2 separate regions of the Homo sapiens genome follow, and region 2 is linked to region 1. The links are contacts of gene promoters, found by promoter capture Hi-C in blood cells and fetal thymus (Javierre and others, 2016). All regions are on one chromosome and are shown on one strand. The core of a region is centred on a gene start or on the middle of the fragment in contact, and the rest is flanking DNA. Distances in the headings are between cores, read along the strand shown.

Region 1 (7,002 bases), core at 2,587-5,086:
TTCCCTGATGCCCTTGGGATAAAGTCCAAACTCCCTGGCACACGAGGCTCGCTCTCAACAACTTGACCCCCACCTGCTTTTCCAACCACTCACCATCCCGGACCACAGCCACATTGACTGCTCGCTCTACTGTATCCATGCTCTTTTCCCATGTCTTCTTCCTGGAATGCCCTTTTCCAAGGGAACTCCTATTTACCCTCCAAAATCCAGCCAAAATGCCACCTCTTGTATGGATTACTCCTCAGTTCCCACAAGAAGGATTAACTGTTCCCTTCTCTTTGGTAGCTTTGCATATTATAAGCGAGTGTCATTTTGTTTTAAAAGTATTTACCTCCCGATATTGCCACCCTAGAGCACGAGCTTCTAAAGGCTGGAACTGGGACTTGATTCCACTGGGTCTTTTTTCCTAATTACAATTTAGATGAACAAGAGATTTCTTTCTCCTTATTCAAGAGTGAATATTGAAGGAAGTCACTAAAATTAATTTAAAGTGTTTGTAATTTCTAATGCTCTTTGAATTGCTAAAAGTAAACAGAAATGTAAAATACAAAATCTAGAAAATACCTTTTTTAAGACTTTATTTTTTTAAAGCAGTTTTAAGTTCACAGCAAAATTGAAAGGAAAGTACGGAGATGTCCCATATACCTCCTGCCCCCACACATGCATAGCCTCCCCCATTATCAACATCCCTCACCAGAGAGGTACATTTGTTTCTGTGTGTGTGTGTATTTTTTTTGTTTTGTTTTGTTTTTTTGAGACAGAGTCTCACTGTATTGCCCAGGCTAGAGTGCAGTGGCGTGATCTCGGCTCACTCCAATCTCCACCTCCTGGGTTCAGGTGATTCTCCTGCCTCAGCCTCCTGAGCAGCTGGGATTACACGCACCTGCCACAACACCTGGATGATTTTTGTACTTTTAGTAGAGACAGGGTTTCACCATGTTGGCCAGACTGGCCTCAAACTCCTGACCTCAGGTGATCCGCCTGCCCCGGCCTCCCAAAGTGCAGGGATTACAGGCGTGAGCCACCGTGCCCAGCCTATATTTGTTACAATTGATGAACCTACACTGACACATCATAATCACCCAAAGTCCATTGCATTTGTGTTCACTCTTGATGTTGTACATTCTATGTGTTTGGACAAATGCAAAATGACATGAATCCACCATTACAGTATTGTACAGAGTAGATGCACTGCCCCAGAAATTCTCTGTGCTTTGCCTATTCATCCTGCCTATCCCACGTCCAGCCCACACAACTACTGATATTTTTACCTATTTTTGCCTTTTCCAGAATGTTACATAGTTCGAATCATACACTAAGTAGCCCCGCAGATTGCTTCTTTCACTTAATAACATGCATTTAAGATTCTTCCATGTTTATTCATGGTTTCACAGCTCATTTCTTTTTAGCACTGAATAATATTTCATTGCCTGGATGTCCCGCAGTACATGTATTCATTCACCTACTGAACGACATCTTGGTTGTTTCCAAGTTTGGGCAATTATGGATAAAGCTACTATAAACATCTATATGTATGTTTTTGTGTAAACATTTATTTTTATCTCCTTTAGGTAAACACCAAGGAGCACCATTGCTGAATCATATTGTAAAAGTATGTTTCATTTTGAAAGAAACCATCAAACTGTCTTCCAAGGTGGCTGTACCATTTTTCATTTCCACTAAAACATCCTGCAATTGCCACTGTCAGCGTTCTGGATTTTGGCCTTTCTAATTGGTAAGTAGTGGTATCTCATTACTGTTTTGATTTGCATTTCCCCAATGACATATGATGTGAAGAATATTTTCATATGCTTATTCACTATCTGTATATCTTTTTTGGTAAGATGACTGTTAAGGTTTTTGGCCCATCTTTAAAATCAGATTGTTTGTGTTTTTATTGTTGAGTTTTAAAAGATACTTGTATATTTTGGATAACAGTCCTTTATTGGATATGTCTTTTTTTTTTTTTTTTTTTTTTTGAGAGAGAGAGAGAGTCTCCCTCTGTCACCCAGGCTGGAGTGCAGTGGAGTGATCTCAGCTCACTGCAACCTCTGCCTCTGAGGTTCAAGCAGTTCTCGTGCCTCAGCCTCCTGAGTAGCTAGGACTACAGGCACGCATCACCATGTTTGGCTAATTGTTGTATTTTTATTAGAAACAGGGTTTTGCCATGTTTCCCAGGCTTGTCTCAAACTCCTGACCTCAGGCAATCCACTGGCCTCAGCTTTCCAAAGTCCTAGGATTACAGGCGTGAGCCACCGCGCCTGGCCATGGATGTGTCTTTGCATTCATTTTCACCCAATTTGTGGCTTGTGTGCTCATTCACTTGAGGAAATGCCTTTTGATTTTAATTCAATGCAAATATTACCAAAAACGTGATATAATTCCATTTTTAGCTTATTCAAGTAAAGTTCATAAATATTCATTATTCTACAAATATTTATGGTGCACCTTATCACATGTCAAACTCTGACTAAGGATACCAATTACTCTAGTTAAACTGTGACCGTACAGAATCAAGACATCTCTGTAAAGAGAGCAAATTTAATTAACTGATCTGAAAATTTTACCTTTGCTGGCTCACAGTGCTCAATTACCATGTAATTGAAGTGATATGTGATTAATTAAATTTTTTAGCTCCAGCATATTTGGAGTGTTTCCCATGATGTATTAGAGTCAAAAGCCATGGTGTTCTCCCAAGTAATGTATAATATAATAAAAGAGACAGACCTATTACAAAATGAATAGGCAGTGCAGTGGGATAGAAAAAGCACTGAGCTACTATCTGTGTGAGCTGGGAGAAGTATAATAAGTTAAATTATCATCTTGGCCTCACTTTCATTTTTGGTAAGAATGGAGTCATTGGGCTAGAATCTGTAGGTAATGGATTCTTACTGCTATACGTAGAATAACCATTTTGTGTACTAAGGACCAATGCAGCCCTACCTGTAGCTGGGCAGCAGCCAGAGTCAGAGTGATTGGAAGAAAAAAATTGGATCTCCAAGTTGAAGGTCTAGCCTTGGAAGAATCTGTTACTATAAAATGAGAAGCAGAATAAGTAAGCCAGATGAAGAGTTAAACCCGTGCTTGTAGATTTTTGTTGGCTTGGTATTTTTTTGTGTTTAATTCAAGAAGAATTAGAGGCAGTGTTCCCCATTAAGAAAAGACATAAACTGATTAAAAGGAGACCCAAAGAAGGGAATTATCACTGCTCTGCTAAGGGACGTGGAAGGTGAGGGGACACAGCACAGTTGTATATAGAGTGGCCACTAATCCAGCCACACAGCAGCATTTCCATCTGCCTCCTGCCATCTTTCCCCTGTATGGAGAACCACAGGATTTTGGTGATGTTCTATTTCTTGACTTTGGTGACGGTTACAGTATTTGCTTAATTATTATTTCATTATTTACATGTTTTGTGCACTTTTCCAAACCTTTTAATTGTTAAGAATATATGGTACCATGTATTTAAGAATACATGGTACCATATAATAAGAATATATATTTAAGAATATATATTATTCTTTAAGAATATATGGTACCATAATGTCCTGAATGATACCTATGAGAGCAGTCATTTGACTTTGGCAAAAAAATGAGGTTTCTCATGGAGTCAATTTATGCAGCAGACAGAAAAAAAAATCCTTTGAAAGACAAATACATTGTGTGCTTCCTGCCAATAACGATGTAATACTTCCTCGTTTTAGTTAATGAAAAATAACACATACTTTCAAAGTTCTGTAGACTCTAAAAAGAAAGAAAACACTCAAATGAGTCACCTATTTCCACATTCGAGGCTGAGAAGCTATATAAATTTCTGCAGTCACTAGCAGAAAACACCAAATCAACCATAGGTCCAAGAACAATTGTCTCTGGACGGCAGCTATGCGACTCACCGTGCTGTGTGCTGTGTGCCTGCTGCCTGGCAGCCTGGCCCTGCCGCTGCCTCAGGAGGCGGGAGGCATGAGTGAGCTACAGTGGGAACAGGCTCAGGTATGTCACAGCCCACTTACTTAGGGTTCCATTCTTTTGCCATCTGCATTAAGAAATGTGTTTTTCAATTATTTCCCTTCCCATGTTAGCATTGCAGTGGAATTTTCTTTGGGGTGGTTCTTCGGATTATAAAAGCAATATATGTTTTCATCAAGTAGCCATTAAAAGCAGGTTTCAGAATCTGCTCAAATCGGGCTTGAGTTCCAACCCTCCACTCACTATGTAGATAGACTCAGGAAGGTCATCAAACTTCTCTAAGCTTCAGGTTTCCAATTTGGAAGTTGGAGATAAGAATGGTATCAACCAAATGAGGGTGTTGTGAAGCATTCAACACAATACCTGAAACATTGTTTAAATTAAGTTCTTATTTTTATTTATTATAACTTGAGATTCTTTTTCTATAGTATACAGAATATTGCCTCTTAAGATACAACCTGTAAATATACTGTTTGTGTATTTACAATACTGTTTGTAATGGAGATATCTGAAGTCAGAAAACATGGGTAGAAATTACAACTCTCCAACAAGTCAATGACAATAGACAAGGCATTAACATCTGACTTTGTTTTCTCATGTGTCCAGTAGAAAAAATAATATTATGTGTTTTATACCTCATGGGGTATTCTAGTAAGTAAATGAGGTGATAACAAAACCAACTAGCATGTATGTAACAATTGTAGATTATAAAGTACTTATATAGACATTGTGTCATTTAATCCTTAGTTCTATAAAAAGAGGAAACCAAAGTTAAACTGATTAGTGTACTTATTAGTGGTAGAGATAGAAATCAAGGACAAGTGCTTCTGGTTCAAAAATCATGTTCCTTGCAATATGCTTCTTAATAAGCAGTCTAATAAATATAAGCAGTCTACTAATTATTATTTGGTTAACTAATGGGATGATTACTTATAACTATTATTTGTAAATTTAGGCCTTAAGCATAAGAAAAGTCAATTTTTAATTCACATTAACTTAGACTTTTAAAAAGTTCCAGTTATAATAAGTTAGATTGAACCACATAAAGTTACTAGTATTTAACTTTTAAAATCTCCAAAACAGTAGTTTTATATGGTTCCACCTAATGAATTCTCCAGAAAGAGTACTCTGCGTTTAGTTTCTTTACTTAGAGTGAAGGTTGGCAGAAACTTAGTCTTCACTTGGAGGGATGTTAGCTAGGTTTAACAAAAAAACAGGAAAAGTCATCTCAACAAAGCAGAGAGATTTCTTCCAGAGGGTGTCTTGGTAAAGTCTGTAGCTCTAGAAGGGATTAAATGGGTTATTTGTTTTTAAATAAAGGATCAGTTATCAATTGTCATGGATGAACAATAAGTATTTGTTGTATTTAATGAGACAATTGTTGGTAACAGGAAAAAAAGACACAATATTAATAAGATTTCTTACATAAATTGCATATTCCTGGGCGGTCCTAAGACAGGTAACCATTACCATCTACTCCAAATAAACTGCAAATTAGTGAGCCAATGTTTAAATCATTTTAACAACAATATTATCAGGCATCATATAACCCTACACATGTTTCTAATGTATAGAAGTCAGAACACTTGAGTTCAAATACTGGTTCCTTCAGTTACTCACAAGGTGATCTTGTGCAATTTATTTCACTTCTCTGAGCTGTGTTTCTTCATGTATAAAATAGGGATAACAATGCCATACTTGTTTCATAGAGTGGTTATGAGGTTTACATAAAATAAATATGTAAGTGCCTGGCTCTAGTAAGTGCTTAAAAATGTTCCTGTGAGGTTGCTATTGTTGTTAGTTCATTCACTTTTGTTGTTGTTGTATTTGTGCTGCTGGATTCCTATCCTCATATTCAGATACTGAGAAACTTTAGAGAAATTCCCAGGAATCCAACCTTGCATGGAATAAACCTGGGAGTCCTACTGTATACTGCAATCTCCCAAAGTGGGTTTGACTAGAGATTTAACAGCAGAAAGAAGGGCTGGGAATGGAATGAGCAGAAAGAGGGAAAAGAGGACCTAGGAGTCAGGAAAGTCAAGTCCAGTTCTGCTACTAATTTAAGGTGTGAACCTGGGCACATAAATCATTTAGTTGCTATAAGCTTTGGTTCCTTCACCGGATTATTAAATTGAACTATTTAATAATTTCCTAATATCTTTTCCCAGAGCTAAAATTTTAAGACCCTTTAACTTTTAGCTGGAACCGCATCTCAGCTGGACTTTAGATAGGGCTGGTTGACCTCAGATCTCCCCCACAGGGTCTATGATAACACAGAGAATGTCCCAGTCGTACCCCTGAGGACAGACTGGTACATGCTTCCTGATTGCTCTTACACACTTCTAGGCTTTATAAAGTGTACAGTGTAATTCTCCCCAAAACATTTAAATGGATTTTTTAAAAATTGAGGGATTCTTTTCTTTTGCTCACGAAATGGCACGCCAGTGCTTCATTAGCAATATTAAATTTTCTCCTCACTAATGCACACTTATTTTTCTCTGTGACTATGTAATTATTCTGTCTTCAAATCATTATTTGAATTCACAGGAACCAAAGGCAAGAGATATATAGGCTTCTAAGATAAAAGAATATAATAAACAAGAACTATAGATTAATTACTCTCTTTTCAATAGGACTATCTCAAGAGATTTTATCTCTATGACTCAGAAACAAAAAATGCCAACAGTTTAGAAGCCAAACTCAAGGAGATGCAAAAATTCTTTGGCCTACCTATAACTGGAATGTTAAACTCCCGCGTCATAGAAATAATGCAGAAGCCCAGATGTGGAGTGCCAGATGTTGCAGAATACTCACTATTTCCAAATAGCCCAAAATGGACTTCCAAAGTGGTCACCTACAGGTTAGTTTTGCTCTGGCTCATTTTGGCAAAAACAATAAAGCCTGTTTCCTAGGGGTCAAACATTGTTTTCTTGTTTGCTACTAGGATCGTATCATATACTCGAGACTTACCGCATATTACAGTGGATCGATTAGTGTCAAAGGCTTTAAACATGTGGGGCAAAGAGATCCCCCTGC
Region 2 (7,002 bases), core at 1,903-4,402, 130 kb before region 1:
GAAAACTGCTATCCTTAGAAAGCCCTGCTTACAAGGTTGGCCTTTAGGCTGACATCTGGAAACTTAGATTTCAGAAGATTCCTACCATTCACTGGCAAGAATGGCTCACTGTACCTAAACTGTGCAAATATGGTTTACAATGAACACCTGCTTTCCTTCTGGGAGTCTGGAATTTGGGTACATGGCAGGCAGAGGCAGGTAGAGAGGGCATGCCCCCAGACCCCAATGAAAAACCTGGGCACTGAGTCTCTAACGGGCTTTCCTGACGGACAACATTTCACACTTGTTGTCACAACTCATTACTGAGAAATTTAAGAGTGTCCTCTGTGACTACATTAAGAAAGGACCCCTGGAAATTTGCACCTAACTTACCCTGGACATGCACCTGTTCCCTTTGCCAATTTTTATCTGAATCCTTTCACTGCAATAAATACTTGCTGTGAATAGGACTATACATTCTATACATTGAGTCCTATGAGTCCCTCCAGGGGATCGTAGAACCAGTAGCAGACCAGGGGAATCCACTGACACAAGCACTTTTGCTTTTCTGTGCTCTGGGAATATAAGTATATGGGTCATGACCAGAAAACAAACAAACAAAAATTGAGCTAAAAATATGAAATTTAGCTATAAAGTGTGAACTCCATAATCATCAACTAGAGAGCTGATCTATGTCTTGGACAAGTGGGGAAACATGGTGAATTTCCTGTAGCAATTGGAGAAGGGGTATTTTGCCCTTGAAAAGCATCATTCAATTTATGATCTGATCTTGTACAGAAGAAGAGAAAGTGCTATATAAATAAATACTAGTTAACACAAACAACCTCTCTTGAAGTAGAACCACCTCCAAACTAGAAATCTAAGATTCCTCCCCACTTTTTTATAAAAGCCTGCCTTCCATAAAGGCCTTTAGAAAAACTTAGACCTGAAAAGGAGCTCAGAGCTCATCATTCCCTCTCTTCTCAGTACAGAAATCCTCTTTAGAACATTCCTATCAGGTTATCTCTTGAGCACTTCCCGTTCACCCAATGCTTCTCAAAAATTTCCTCCAAACTACTCGAAGAAAATAAATCTTATTGGCAGAGTAGTTACAGGTATAGTTCAAATCAGATTTGAAAAGATAAATATCTCTGAGCATACCTTGCTTTTCCTTAAAATTTATCTGATTTTTGTTATTTCCTCACATGTCTGTGTTTTGTGGAGATATTCATCACCATTTTAAAAAGCATGCCTCAGGCCAGGCACTGTGGCTCACACCTGTCATCCCAGCGCTTTGGGAGGCCAAGGCAGGAGATTCGATTGAGCCCAGGAGTTGGGGACCAGGCAGGGCAACATATCAAGACCTTGTTTCTGCTAAAGATAATTTTTTTTCCAAAAACTTAGCCAGGTGTGGTAGCACATTCCCGTACTCCCAGCTACTAGGGAGGCTGAGGTGGGAGGATAGATTTAGCCTGGGAGATTGAGGCTGCAGTGAGGTTGGAACACCATTGCACTCCAGCCTGAGAGACAGAAAAAAACCTTGTCAAAAAAGAAAGAAAAAAAAATAATGTGGCCAGGCGTGGTGGCTCACGACTGTAATCCCAGCACTTTGGGAGGCTGAGGCGGGCGGATCATGAGGTCAGGAGATCGAAACCATACTGGCTAACACGGTGACACCCCGTCTCTACTAAAAATACAAAAAATTAGCCAGGCGTGCTGGCAGGCGCCTGTAGTCCCAGCTACTCAGGAGGCTGAGGCAGGAGAATGGTGTGAACCTGGGAGGCGGAGCTTGCAGTGAGCTGAGATCGCGCCACTGCACTCCAGCCTGGGGGACAGAGCAAGACTCCGTCTCAAAAAAAAAAAAATAAACAAATAATAAAGTATGGCCTTAGAGAGATTACTAAAGTACATTTTTATGTAACTTTTTTCTAATTACAAAACACAAAAAAAGTACAGAGAGAAAAGAACAATACCTATGCATAATCCCTGCACTCCTACCGCAAGATAACTGCTTCTAATATTTATGTGCCTGTCTTATAAATTTTTATTTTAAAGAAAAAAACAGCTATAAGATAGTGTGATAGGTTCTACTTGCAGAAAAAAATATATGAAAGAAAAAAAGAATGGAGAATTACAATCTTAACAGAAGAAGTGCCTGAAATCTACTTTGACTAGAAAACCTAGAGGTGAGAGAGACAGAAAATTAAACATAATAACCATGTTTTCATTTTAAAACACACCTTTCAAGTAAGGATCCAAATGCTTCAGATATACTAGGCAAAGATGGGGTCCAAGAAATTTAAGAAAGGTTGTCTGCACATGTATTCACCTTGATTCTTTGTTAATGTAAGGTTTGGTATCTATATACCCTTTAGTTATACTCACTCAGCAGCTGTCAGCAGAATCATTACACAGGTTAAGAAACAGCAGTGTTGGGAATTTATTTTCCAATGACATATATATACAGGTCTTTCCAAGAGGTAGAAAGCTTAGGTCTCATAAGACAAATAATTGTGCTTATAAGGCATTAGATTTCGTGGTTGGCCAGCTGAATAGGTCCATTTCAAGGTCCTAAAAGAAGTAGATGTTGCACACACACACACACACAAACACACACACACGCACACACACACACGAAGATGGGTGAAACTCCTGCTGAACAACAATATTCCACCAGGCAACTGGCTAAAGGAGTGGAATTTACTTCAATGGTTGGAAACCTAAGGGCATCTACAGTGTTTGAAAGAAACTGAGAACTTGCTTTAGAAGTCCAAGTTTTAGTCCAAGTTCTGTCCTTTACCATCTGGTTGTCTTCGCAAGCCATTTCACTTCTCTGAGCCTGTTTTCCCATCAATAGAATGGGTATAACAACGTCCACCTTGAATGATTGGGGGGTTACATAATTTAGACGGCCTGGCATGTAATAAATACTGCATAAATGTAGCCCAGAGAATTGCTACACTGATAAAATAAAACAATACATGTGAAAGCACTTTGTAATCTGTATAGTTATCTGGGAGTGGGAGAAAGCCAAACCTCACCAGAATACTATTGTTTAGAACTAAGGATTACATTTAATAAGGGCCTCATACATCAAGGAAGGCAAACAGATTGAGACAACTCCATTTGATGAGGAGCTGCTGTCTCGAATGCCACATTGTAAAAAATATCCTGCAGCCATGGGTTCAGAAGGGACAAAGAAATACAGCATTAATGCCAGTTATTGTAGCATAATCGAAATGAGTTAGAGCTTGAGCCCAGCGGGAACTTACAGAAAGACGTTCTGCCTACACCCCGGCTCCCTGATCTGCAGCTGCACCACTGAATGTTGCAGAAAAAGGTTTCATGAACAGAAAATGGCAATCATAAGACTTGTAGGGTGTATACGCTCTTTTCAAGTATATCTAAGTGCATGATCTCAAGTTACTGGATATCAGCAAAAGAGAACAGAGAATATTTCCAGCCACAATCCAAGGACAATATGGAGTATCAGTTTCCACTAAATATGAGATTAATGATAGCCCTACTTGATAGGGTTTCTATGAGGAATAAATTAGATGAAATACATAAAATACCTAGAACAGATCTAGCATGGGGCAAGCGTTCAATAATATATAACTATTATTATAAGGATAAAGATGTATTATCTTTTGTTTCAATAATTCACAATATAATTTGGGATTAGGTTGCAAAATTGATGAGTAATGTGATACTCAAGTCAGGTAAAATTATTTATTAATAATCTCTAAATTATCAAGACCTGCAGACTTGGAAGCTCCAAAGCAAATAATACATGACTTTAATCACTCTTTGTCTTTCAATTGATACCTCCCTTTACCTAGGGCAAGGGAAGCTTCTGTTTTAATGGAAAGGAAAAGAGGGAGGACGGAAGGAATTGAAGCTGGAATAGGCTTGTACAATGGGACAAATAAATATAGTTTTCACTCTTTATGACCAATACATACAGTTGGCTTCATTTTACAGTTGGCTTCAAGTTAACAGTGCATGTGATGCAAATCAATTTACAATTTTCCTTAATAATTAAATCAAATAGTAATAAAATACTTAAAGCTGTCTTTTACTATGCCTCAGTCTGACAACGAGAGATAACTACTGCAAACATAATGAATTATGTCTTCTGGTATTCAACTTCATTTCTCTAAATAATGTGCTTGTGCATTTATTTCCTAATTAATGTATCTTATACATTATCTAGTGACTTCTGTTAATATTAGCTCTATTACATTCCCACCAACCCTCCACCTCCTTTCTTCCCTACACTTCCTCTTATATCACAGTGTTTATATTTTTATTATGTAAATATTGTTTATTTCCAAGTCAAATAGTTTATTATTATTACATTCCCATTCACATACAGTTTTCTGGTATTTCTTTTTCTTTTCTTTTTTTTTTTTTTTTTGAGATGGAGTTTCGCTCTTGTTGCCCAGGCTGGAGTGCAATGGCGTGATCTCAGCTCACCACAACCTCCGCCTCCCGGATTCAAGTGATTCTCCTGCCTCAGCCTCACAAGTAGCAGAATACCAGCTACTTACAGGCATAGTTAGTGATTGCTTTATTTATCATTGCTACTGATTACAAGCATAGTTAGTGATTGCTTTATTTATCACTGCTTGGTTTTCTGTGCCCATTCCAAGTTTTTTTCAAATGCTGCAGCTGTTTTGATGTGTACCTATCAATAATTATTTAACTCAAATGCTAGCCAACCATTTAATTTAGTTATATCATTTTTCTCTTTCAGGATGAAACTGTCCATCCAGCTCTAAGGAGAACTGGTAGCTTCCTTGCCCTGATGCTTAGCTGTTTATACTGAAACTTCCCCTCCACTTCTCTCCTGTATTGGATCCCCTGATTCCTTGAAGTAATGTCTATTTTTCATTTTACCCTATCAATTGCTAAAACATGTTCTGCAATAACTTCCTGAGAAAAGATACATGAAAAATTAGTTTTTGGACTTCTCATGTATCTTGATTGATTGATTGATTGATTGATTTACGGGGTATGGAAACCTAAGTTGAAGTCACATCCCCTTAGAATTTTGAAGGTATTTCTTTACTATCTTCTAGAATCCTATATTTTAGCCATTTGAATTGCTATCCTTTGATTGTGACCTGTTTTTTCCTCTATAACTTGATGTGGGTTTTTTTGCATTTGTTGATCTGGGTAATTGGTGGACGCTTTCAGTCTAGAAACTTTCAGCCTTCAGTAAAGAGAAATTTTCCTATATTATTTATTTGATAATTTCTTCCTTTACTTTTTCTCAGTTCTATCTTTCTGGATCACTTCCTTCATTGGATGTTTGTTCTCCTTGTTTGATCTCCAATTTTCTCATCCTTTTTCCTTTGATTTTTAACCTCTAGTTCTATTTTCTGGACAATATCTTTCACTTTATTATCTACATTTTAATAAAATTAACCGATTCATTTGTATTAGTCAGGGTACTTAGGTGCAATGATTAGAAGGAAACTCTGGCTCATAAAGCAGAAAGGGAATGTACATAAAACATTTTGAGTAGCTTATAGAATATTTGCAATATGAAAGAACAGACGTGGAGGCTACAACAGCCAAGAAACCAGAGCACCCTCAATACTTCTCAGAACTTAATCCATAAAAGCATTACTGTAGCCCTCAATGGGCATAGCTTGCACTGCAATGCCACCAACACTGGGTGCTGTGTGGTGTCACTAGAATTTCTTCCAGTCTACCACTGGAGGCTGGAAGTAGCTGAAATCACAACTTCCAGACTCACCAGAATGGATCTGTGTGATACCTGAGTCTTCCTGTCACTAAATGCTAATTCAAATTCTGGAGAAACTGACCATGCCCTAGTTACAAGCAAATGTTTGACATTTTTGGTTTTAATATTGGAAACTGGCTCTGCCTCAAAAGGTAGGGAATCCCCCAAATGTATGATAAGGATTCAGAGCCTGGGCAATCACAAAGGATAAAAATGTCCACTGAGGTCCACACTTAATCCATCCTACACCAATGTTCACCCTTCTTCTACACTTCTAAAAAAATGCTTCTACATAGCATAATGCAATGAAAAATACCTTGTCCAACTAAAAAACATGCTTATCCTTTGCCCTAATATTTAAAAAGCAGTAAACTCAAAGTCTCACTGTTATTTATTGTTTCCATTCCAAGACCAGGATCTCTGAGTAATGTTCATGCTTCTCCGGTTCTATACTGATAACCTTCTATTCAATATCACATAATCTTGGATTAATTTGTGAATTTAACCAGAATGAACAAACATAAGGTAGTGGGAGATGGGGGATAAAGGAAAGAAAAGAAGGCAGTTCAACTGTCTAGGATATTTATTATTTTCAATGGCAAAACTCGCAATTACTTTTGCACCAACCTACAATAGAAGAAAATATTGGGAGATGCGGCTGTCCTTATTTCTCCAAATCCCCATGAAACTTGTGGCAGGCTGAAAAATGATTCTTCAAAGATATGTCCACATCCTAATCCTTGGAACCTGTATATGTTACTTACTGTATTTGAATACAGAGTCTTTGTAGCTGCAATTGAATTAAGGATCTTGAGATGAAGAGATAATCCTGGATTACAAACATGGGCATAAAATCCAATCATAGGAGTCCACGTAAGAGAGAAGCAGAGAAATGTTTGACACACACAGAAGAAGAAAAGTCAATGTGTACACCAAGGCAGAGATTACAATGATGTGGCCACAAGCCAAGGAATGCCAGCAGCCACCAAAACGTAGAAGAGGCAATAAATGATTATCCCCTAGAGCTTCTAGAGGGAGTATGTTTGTTCCTGCTGAAACCTTGATTTTAGCTCAGTGAAACTGATGTCATATTTATGGTCTTCAGAATTGTAAGAGAATAAATTTCAGTTATTTTAACCAGGCTTGTGAGAGGTTGTTAACAGCAGCCACTGGAAAGGAATATGAAGCTACAGTAGAATTTAGGATTTTCCTTCTCTATTATCAGGCTCAGAAGTCTGTGTTTGTCAAATGCTTCTTATGAGATTCTA

Evidence for each region. Contacts are between HindIII fragments. The CHiCAGO score rates a contact against its expected background, and 5 or more counts as called.
Region 2: a contact is called between a fragment that was not itself captured here and the fragment with the promoter of MMP7 in region 1, in 6 of 17 cell types (M1 macrophages, M2 macrophages, M0 macrophages and 3 more). The highest score is 13.1, in M1 macrophages.

The regions. Positions count from the first base shown.
Region 1 is chr11:102,527,581-102,534,582 of GRCh38, reverse strand. MMP7 (matrix metallopeptidase 7) reads left to right here and starts at 3,836. Exons shown (of 6, transcript NM_002423.5): 1 at 3,836-3,990; 2 at 6,600-6,826; 3 at 6,911-7,002. The coding sequence starts at 3,883. The HindIII fragment of the contact is 6,591 bases long and covers 1-4,251 here.
Region 2 is chr11:102,655,402-102,662,403 of GRCh38, reverse strand. All of the region lies in intron 1 of MMP20-AS1 (MMP20 antisense RNA 1), which reads right to left. Among named protein-coding and RNA genes, the nearest start is that of MMP20-AS1, 18 kb to the right of the region's middle. The HindIII fragment of the contact is 1,365 bases long and covers 2,470-3,834 here.